Linked DNA regions of Homo sapiens: regions 1 and 3 are each linked to region 2. Evidence: promoter capture Hi-C in human tissues and cell types (Jung and others, 2019). All regions are on one chromosome and are shown on one strand. Each heading gives the region's core, a stretch centred on a gene start or on the middle of the fragment in contact. The rest is flanking DNA. Distances are from core to core; before and after follow the strand shown.

Evidence for each region. Contacts are between HindIII fragments. The study calls those that stand out against the background at their distance.
Region 1: a contact is called between a fragment that was not itself captured here and the fragment with the promoter of ALDH1A3 in region 2, in 1 of the 25 tissues and cell types used here (bladder).
Region 3: a contact is called between a fragment that was not itself captured here and the fragment with the promoter of ALDH1A3 in region 2, in 3 of the 25 tissues and cell types used here (IMR-90 fibroblasts, dorsolateral prefrontal cortex and pancreas).

The regions. Positions count from the first base shown.
Region 1 is chr15:100,927,684-100,930,728 of GRCh38, forward strand. The region is part of intron 2 of LRRK1 (leucine rich repeat kinase 1); the gene reads left to right. Among named protein-coding and RNA genes, the nearest start is that of LRRK1, 9.8 kb to the left of the region's middle. RefSeq lists an enhancer at 1,635-2,588. The HindIII fragment of the contact is 4,366 bases long and covers 1-3,045 here.
Region 2 is chr15:100,878,563-100,881,546 of GRCh38, forward strand. ALDH1A3 (aldehyde dehydrogenase 1 family member A3) reads left to right here and starts at 1,269. Exons shown (of 13, transcript NM_000693.4): 1 at 1,269-1,444. The coding sequence starts at 1,346. It overlaps LOC124903575 (collagen alpha-1(I) chain-like), which reads right to left and starts at 1,241. Exons shown (of 1, transcript XM_047433433.1): 1 at 384-1,241. The coding sequence starts at 1,241. The coding sequence ends at 459. RefSeq lists a silencer at 1,190-1,309 and an enhancer at 1,801-2,315. The HindIII fragment of the contact is 10,500 bases long and covers 1-2,453 here.
Region 3 is chr15:100,843,403-100,846,542 of GRCh38, forward strand. It overlaps the pseudogene PHF5AP6. Among named protein-coding and RNA genes, the nearest start is that of GCAWKR, 4.8 kb to the right of the region's middle. The HindIII fragment of the contact is 6,076 bases long and covers 1-3,140 here.

The DNA of each region.
Region 1 (3,045 bases), core at 1-2,500, 49 kb after region 2:
GTTTAGCATTAAGAAAATTATGTTACATGTTAATGAATTACAATAATAACCAAATCCTCATAAGGAATCTGGTGAGAAGCTACTAATTTATACCCATACTCAGAGTTTTAAGGTCCCACAGGTGGTACCAGCAGAACTGAGCCTGTGAGCCCCAGCCCTGGAGCTCACTAACAGAAGTTATTAATTCCAGGGACTAAAGCCTACAGTGCTCCCTCTGTAAAGCCCAATTTTAACGCATTGCATGTTGGATTTCATTTTCGCAGAATATATTAATAAATGTGTACACTAAGACTACAGCCAAGGAGCAGGTAATGCTCAAAGGGTGGCGTGTGGCCACGTCTGTGTGCTGGGATTGCAGTCACTGTGCTTTGCTCATCGGTGCTGTTTATGTTTCCTGCAATATCTACACATTGCTTTTTGTTTTGTTTTGCCTTCTTTTGCATCCAGACGAATAATATTGCAAGTTATTTTTAAATTATTGTTTATTTAAGTACTGATGATTTGTGTTTAGAATCTAAACGGTAAACCTCCTGTGCTTACATCCAAAGTTAGATCTGCCTCCACTGGCCTCTTTGCCTTGAAGTCTTTCTGGAATAAATGCGGAATACTTGACTTACTATGACTGCAGCTGATCCCCCCGCAGGACTCACCCTCTGCACATGTCCCCAGAGCCTAAGCTGGATTTGTCCCATCCCACCTTCTCCTAGACTTCCTGGGATGATAGGGAGCCCTGTTTCCCCTCTCCCACCCCCCAAATCCACCAGCCTCACTCAGGGAACACTGTTCAGGCCTAATTTCCAGCTCCGGCTGAGAAAAGTTGGCCGCCAGAAGGAAAACTAACGACACTCAAAATTATGTAGGGACAGCTTTCTCATGCTTTAAAAATCCTTGGAAGATAACGTGATTGAAAACGACGACGTTCTTATTATACTTCCACGTGTGCGTTAGAAAAAGACCCACACTTTAAAAAAGAGTGTCTACTCTTGGGTGTTGGGGTAATGGTATTTTTAATTTTTTATTTGTGTACTAGGCACGCCTTTTCACACCCCCTACCTGTTGTGACTTGCGTGACCTCAGCTCATGTTTGTTTACAATGGTTAATCCTTTCAAAGCCCCTGGATGTGGGGGGCTTTGCCCAGCTGGTGTGAGGCTGGGGTCTGTGTGTGTCTGCCCTGCCGTGCGGCCCGCTGTGTGTTTGTGCAACACAATTGTGTCCCAGGAAGGTGTGTGACAATCTCAACCTCATTAGCACCAGCAGCAGTCAGCTCGCCTGCGGTGCAAGAGGAATGGTTGGAAAGCTTTGATGGGCGTAGAGTTTGCCAGCTGACAGAGCAGCTGTCAATGAGATGCTGGGCATGGGCTGCAGGACGCGCATTACTTTGACAAACATGTCATTAGATGTTCATTCTTCTGAGTATGTCTGACACCAGCCAGAGTGGAAAAACCAGTCCCGCCAGCCAAGGAGAGCTGTCCTGGAAAGTAGAGAAGTCAGGAAACTTCCACATAATTCAGGTGGAGAATACTTGGGAAGACTTCTGGATTGCGGAGGGTGGGTGGAACTTGAGCAGACATCACCCAGGCAGTGGCTCGCCCCCCCAGCTCTCTGTGAGTGGCCGTCGCTTCGGTCCTGAAAGCCCTGCCACAGTCACACACCTCTCAGAGCACTGCCCACCACCGGACCCAGCATGGACCAAAGGAGGAGAAGGAACATTCCAGAAGTTCTTCAAATCCCAGGTTGTTTCATGGCTACTTCCAATGTCTTGTTTTTTTCTCCTTTGGCTTTTGCGAATCTGTATTTGAAATACAACTCCTTAATATAGGAGCTAAGAGGTTTGCTCAAGTAGGGTCTCTTCCTGCCTTCCAGAAATAGAACTAGGAAATAGATCAAATTAGGAAGAGCCTCTAGGGTGGCAGCCAGCCTTCTTGTCAGGCCACAGCAGGAAAGTCTACGAGGGACAGATCCCCAGTGATGAGCCAGCCCACATCTCTGACCTGTTCCTCCTGTTGGATTCCTGCCTGAACGTGCTGGGCTGTGTTCACACCGTGAGAGCCACAGGAAACAGGGCAGGCAGGGCCTTGCAGGGAAGGAGATTCCAGCCTGGCTGCAGGAGTTCACCAGCCCCTCCAGGGAGCACAGCCACGTCTGGTCAGGAATCTTTTAATGAGTGAGGAGAAGGACAGGGAAGCTGATTGGTGGCCCAGGTGGCAGGCGAGGTGGCTGTGTGCGTCCATCCATGCAGGTGGCAGTTAGCACAGCTGTGCTTCATGCTTACAAAGCAGAGGCCAGCTACAGATGCTCCAGGCCCTTGATGAGCCTTTGAACATTCGTTTTAACCTGAGGCTTAGATCTTCTCCTGGTTACTTGTCTGGAATGTGCTTGCTTACTTCTAGCAATGGGGAGCTGACTCCCTAGCAAACAACGCCAGCCTTTCTGTGGGCAGCTCTGGTAGGAAGTGGATGCTGTGGGGCTCTCTTTGCACCAGGCTTTATTCATTTAGACAGATCGGAATCCCTTAACCCATTTCTTGGAGTCACTAAAAGCAGATGTGTTGCCCTCCCTGCAGATTCCTTTTTAGGCTGAGTAAGCCATCCCACGGACAGGCCGCCGGCAACTTTACACGTTCCGCTTGGATATCCAAGAGTTTTTTGACTTCTCAGTCTGTCTGTGGGCTAATTATTAGGCCATACACACCTGGGTCCACAGGGAGAGCTGCCCCTACCTGCTTCCCCACCCTGCCGTGGACCGGCTTTCAGGAGCACCCCCACTGATCCACCCCATCCTAGGTGGCCCAAGCCTGAATGTGGTAGCTCACCAGAGCCCCAGTCCTCACCCCCTCCCTGGCCTCCCCCACCCCACACTTGCTCCTGACTTGGCCTCCTTTATGTGGGGTGTGCAGGGCAGCCCTATCTGGTGGCCTCTGTGCTTGCTAGGGAGCAGCCCAGGCTCACTTGGCATGCATTCAGCCACCAAGAGAGAAGATTTTCTTACCAGCCATCTGCCCTGGCCCCCATGAAGAGATCAGTAGCCTGAGAGCAGGGAGATGT
Region 2 (2,984 bases), core at 19-2,518:
CAAAACTTACCCCTCTATCCAGCTCTATCCAGAAGGACACCAGGGGACAGAGAGATGGACACGGAGGCCTCAAAACAGGAAAATAAGGAGACCCCTCCCCATTGTTGATTACTTGGGGTTACCTACAGAAAGAGATGAACTGAAGGGGCTGAGCCTATCTGAGGATTAAAGCACAGCTTTTGTCAGGAGTCCGTGCCTCCGGTCTTTGTTCCAGCGACCTGAGGAATGGCATGCATCAGAAGCCGCTTCCGTGTCTCAGATGGGGCCTGGGTCAAGTCCTGGGAGTTGATGGAGCGTTTCCCAAATCGCAAAAGGAGAGGAGCTAGACTTACCTCCCCCTCCTGGGAAGTAATGCGCGACAAGAATTTAAACTCTTAAAACGATTAGCAGCAAAGGTCTCATGTGCTTTTTTTTAATTATCATTTTTTAATCGAGGTATAATTTATGCATTTAAAAAATCAGATCAATTGCCCCCCGGGCTCTGGGATGGAAGGCGGTGTGCGCCTGCGAAGGTCAGAGGCCCAGCGGCGCCAGGGCTCCTCGGCGGAGAGCCGCCCGGGTCCGGCGCTTTGCTTTCGCCTTCTGCCCCACCGCGGGCGAAGCCCCAGGGCCCCGGGGAGACTCCAGGCCGGCTGGGCCGGGGTGCGCCCGCCGGCTGTCCGCGCTCGGGCAGGGTGGGGCGCAGCGGGCGTCTGTCCTGCTAGCGGGGATCGGGCGGCTGGACCCAAGAGCAGGGCACGTGCGCAGCGACGCGGGGCGGCCCCGCCAGGAGCCCCGACCCGGGCGCGGCGCAGGGCCCGGCGGAGAGCGCGCATTCCCGAGCGCCGCGAGCCGGCCGAAGTCGGGCGAGCGCGCCGTGCGGCGGCTGGGAGTGGGCTGCATGTGCCGCGCGGGGAGCCCGCCCGACTTCGGGGAGGCAGCGGGGCGCCGTGGCCCCGCGGCTCAGCTCCCTGCCGGGTCGGGTGTCCCAGCCCTGCGACTTCCGGGGCCCGGCGGCTCCTCGGGGAGCTCGTCCACAGGCAGCCTCCGGGGCGAGAGAGCGCGCGGCGCGGGCGCCGGGACGGTCCGCGGCACGCGGGTGGAGCCGCCGGCGCTCGGGCTCCCGCAGGGGCGGCGGGCGGGGCGGGGTGAGGCGGGCCGGCCGCCCTCCCCTCTCCTCCCTCCCGCAGCCCGCCCTCCCTTCCTCCGGTCCCGCAGCCAATTAGGCGGCCCCCTCGGGCGGGAGGCGTGGGGCGCTGCATAAAGCGGCGGGGAGCTGCCACCCCGGGAGCGGGCTGCGCAGTGTCCGGGCCGAGCCGGTGCGCCGCAGACTAGGGCGCCTCGGGCCAGGGAGCGCGGAGGAGCCATGGCCACCGCTAACGGGGCCGTGGAAAACGGGCAGCCGGACAGGAAGCCGCCGGCCCTGCCGCGCCCCATCCGCAACCTGGAGGTCAAGTTCACCAAGGTGAGGCGGGCGCCCCTCCCACCCGACGGCCGCGGGCCCCTGCGCTGGGCAGCCAGACTCGGGGCGGCGGGGGCGAGGGAGCAGCGGGCCGGGGGTCCGCCGGGCGCCGCCGAGACCCGAGCCTCCCTGCCCGGGCGCGGCTCTCCAGAAACCGCACCTTTCGCGGGACGTCTCGGGCGGGATCGCAGGCGGCGGGGCTCGGCGCTGTGAGCCTCGAAGCCGGGAAACCGAGGCCGTCCAGCGCCCGCGCGGGGCCGGGCCGCCCGCATCCCTGCGAGGCCCCGACGTGTCCCTGCGCTGCCCGCTTTGATCGCGAGTGGAGGTGCGCGCCGCGTTGACTCGGAGCGCGCTGGTTTTGGGGAGCTCCCTCCCCAAAAACCCCTGCGATGATTTCCAGGGTGGACGAGTCTGGCTTTGAGAGGGTCGGAGGGTCCGAGAGCGCCAAGAGAGAGTCCGGGAGGCAGATGGCGGAGCTGCAGTTGGAAGACTGGGGAAGCGGGTCCTCCGAGCAAAGCGCAGCGGGCGCCTTCCGTGCTTAGTTTATACCCGGCTCAGCAGCAGAACGAGGAGGAGTAGGAAGGTGCTCGCTTACTGACGAAACCTCCCCGGAGCCCAGAGGTCCCGGTGTTTACACACAAGGCGCGCGCTCCGGAAGGTCGCAGACCTGGGCCTTTGGGAAGCGGTGGGTCGCGAGGCCGCAGAAGCGCACGGTTCTCTGCCTCCTCGCTCTGTGGGCTGGGAGGCTACAGCGTTGGCAGAACGGCGAGATTACCTGCCCGGGGCAGAAAGGAATAAAAGAAGATGGTGAGGCCTCCGAGGCCTCTGAGCTGGGGCTGAGGAGGGCCGAGAGACCCGGGTCCGGGAGCGCGACCCGATGGAGGACACCCCCAGGCTGTCTGGCGTGCGCGTCTGTCGTGGGCCGGTGCTGGGGCACTTTAGAGGCACAGGCCAGGCCGAGAGCCATTGCCTTAACTTTCCCCACCTTTGGCTTCTCTTGATTTTTGCTTTTACCCATAGCCCCCAACTCCAGCTGACACCGCACTTAGAGAATTTCCTCATCCGTTTTACTTTAAGAAGTAGCAATTATCTTTCTCAAAGAATTTTAATCAAGCGGAGAAAGTTGCAGGGCACTATGTGTGGCCTTCAGATTTGGGTCTCTTGGCACTTAATTCCCAATGTCGGCTGAGCCTCTGATCACAAGACATTTAAATTAACTGTTTTCAGAAGGCTCTGTAATCAACAAAGACACGTCGCTGTAAACTAAACGCTGGAAATTATTCTTAATGTAGTTTTATTTGTAATATCAGCTTCAGAGTGAAAATTCCAACACGAATTCTGGGAAGAGTGAAAATGGTACCCGAATTTTGTAAGACCCTAACCCCAGGTGCTTGGCTGCTGCTACTGATGGTTAAGTGGGGAGGTTGTTTGTTTTCTTTTGGTTGTACAGGATTTCAAAATACTGTATATAGAAACCAGACAGTAAATGTATTATGGTCCTTTTACTTTTTATGTTTTTGAGTCCTATCAGCAATCTGACCAC
Region 3 (3,140 bases), core at 575-3,074, 35 kb before region 2:
TCAGTTCACATGCACAACATATTTTCTATGTTTTCACTAAATTCCTTGTTTCTAGCTTTGTTTATGGTGTGAGCCTATTTCCCTTTCTTTCATCATCATTGTACTTTCCAGGCAACCAGAGTCTTGTCCACGTTTTTGAAGACCGGCTATAGCAAACTTGCCACGTGACTCAACTGACATAAATAACGTCCAGAAATACAGCCAAACCAGAATCCTGCACACATTCCCCAGAATACATACATGTACAACCTAAAGTCGGCAGCACGGGTTTGAGGGCTCAACCACCCTCTGGCAGAGAAGTTGCTTAGTCCTCTTGCTGGACAGCTAAATTCTAGCTGTCTCTCTGGAAGGGAAACATTTTACCAGGTAATAGAAGAAATTGGAAACTTTTCATATTTTACAGCGGGACCATCAGCTTTACCCTGTCCTATTTTAGCAACAAGAGTTATGTTCACAAAAATAAGCACAAGTCACTTAACTGGGACATGCTCTTTTTTTTTTTTAACGTAGATAATGGGAAACTAGCAAGAAAGAAGTTAGTGATACAGACCTAGTACCAGAAGACGCTGGTACTACGGAGACCCTCTGAAATAGAGTTTGCAGTGAGGATTCGTTTGGTGGTTTTTGTTGTTGTTGTTGTTGGTTTTGTTTTTGGTTGAGTCCAAAGTATTCTCTAATTCTTGATGTGAGGATAATTTGTAAATGTCAGTGACCCACAACAGCCCTGGGACAGTATTTTGAAGGAAAGCAGAAAATAATTCAAATAGTTTCCGTACTATGATCTCTGGCTGATTGACTGATGACATGTAATAAGTTACAGAATGTACTGTTTAGATAAATGCTTCTTGAACCTGGATGCAACTAACAAGCATGCAGGTCACTGTGTGGGGAAGTGCCAGGACGTAGGATGGACCCAGTTAGTGGGTGCCTCTGTCAGAGCGCAGCTGTGTTGGAAAAGCATGGAATAGACTTGAGTCCCGAACAGCTGGATCCAAATCCGCACATTCCTCCGGGTGCTGCCTTTCAAAGCAGCCCCTTTGGGTGGCTGGACTCCCGCTCCCACGATGCAGCTTTGGAACATGCTTGGAATTGCAGAATGTGGACTCACCTTGCCAATAAACCTCACCAAAAAAGGTTAATAAGTCTCATAAAAAAAAGTGATCTCATTACCTTGCTTACGTTCAAAAGATTTTTTTTAAAGAAAACAAAAATGGTGTTACCTACTATGATTATTTCTACACCAGATCTGAGTGACTTAGAACTGTTTTCAAAATGAAGCCCGCCCTCAAAGAACAAGGATTTGTCACTTACAAGGAAAATCAAAATCATGCTCCCCAAGCCCTGAGCTGTCCGGGTATGTTTTAGACAGGGCTGGATTGCTGGAGTGAAATGTGGGCCCACTCCTAACGCGACAACGTCGGGTGCTCCGGTGAGAGCGATGTTTTCTAAGCATGACCACATGACCTCAGATGACACCTGGAGGGTATGTGGTCCACAGTGTGAACAGCTTGTTTGCCTGGTGTGAGGTCTCTGCCACCTGATCAAGTGAAGGGCTAAGAGGCCTTCGAATCTGGGAAAGATACATGGGGACAACACCTTGCCTAGGCGGAGCCACCCTTAGCTGTTATCCCAGGGTCATTTAGACCCATTGTCCCAAGGTCAGATAAAGTCGGTCACTTTAGAGGGTTGCATCTGCTGACCAAGACTTACCCCTGAAGGGCCCAGGTCACAGATGTCTGATTCTGGCCTCTCAGGGAGGTTCTTTCATGTCACTGGAGAGAGAGGTGTGCAAGTGGCCCTAGGGAGGGGCCAGAAAGTATCTGAGCGTGGGCTGCTTCTTGACCCCTCCAGGAGCAGAGGCCCGGACACTCAGGCATCCTGCCACTGTGCCTTTCAGAAAGACAGCAGGGGGTGCATCAGAAATCATCTGACCACTCTGCTTTTTGGCTCATGGTTAGGTCCCATTTGAGACTCGAATCAGAGTAGCTGTGTATTTACCTAAGAGAACTCTTTTTTTAAAATAAAAATAAAAATAAAATAAAATAAACACCAACTTTATTAATGTGATAGCATTTTTTGTTTGTTTTGAGACAGAGTCTTGCTCTGTTGCCCAGGCTGGAGTGCAGTGGTGCGATCTTCGCTCAGTGCAACCTCTGCCTCCTGGGTTCAAGAGATTCTCATGCCTCAGCCACCCGAGTAGCTGGGACTACAGATGCGCAAGACCACACCCGGCTAATTTTTGTATTTGTAGTAGAGACGGGGTTTCACCATGTTGGCCAGGCTGGTCTCGAACTCCTGATCTCAAGTGATCCACCCGTCTCAGACTCCCAAAATGCTGGGATTACAGGCTTGAGCCACCGTGCGGGGTCCCCAATTTTTTTAAAGGAAAATAACACGAAACCAGCACCGCCAGGTAAGTGTTACAAGACTAAATGTGCACATTTCTTGTTTTGATAGCTTCCACACACCAAAGCCCCCTCAAGGACAACTGCCACCAGAGTTGCTGCAAGAACACGTTTTTCACTGGGTTAGCTTCACTGTCAACTCCTCAAGCAGCAGACTGAAATATTATTTCTTTTTAGAAGACCTAAGTTTAGGGAGAACATATCAATATGGAGAACAGAGCTTTGCTTCTGGAATTCGAGAAAAACCATGAACGAATCTATCAGTTTTTCTCTGATACAGTGTGCCCGAGTGCTCTGTGAAGAATCCTTTTCCATTTCTCTCATGTGTCTGGGTGAAGGGAGAGGAGGGGTGGCAAGGTGCTGGTATATTACCAGGCGCTCCTGGTGATGCCCTGGGCTCTGCTCCCTTTCTGCTGGTGGCAGAAGGCTTATTTTCTGGCAGCTGCAGCAGCTTGATGTGGAAGAGGAAGGGGACACCCACCAATCATCTTTTTTTTTTTTTTTTTTTTTTGAGACAGAGTCTCGCTTTGCCACTTGGGCTGGAGTGCAGTGGCACAATCTCAGCTCATTGAAGCCTCTGCCTCCCAGGTTCAAATGATTCTCATGCCTCAGCCTCCTGAGTAGCTGAGATTATAGGCATGTGCCACCACACCCGGCTAATTTTTGTATTTTTAGTAGAGATGGGGTTTCGACATGTTGGCCAGGCTGGTCTGGAACTCCTGATCTCAGGTGATT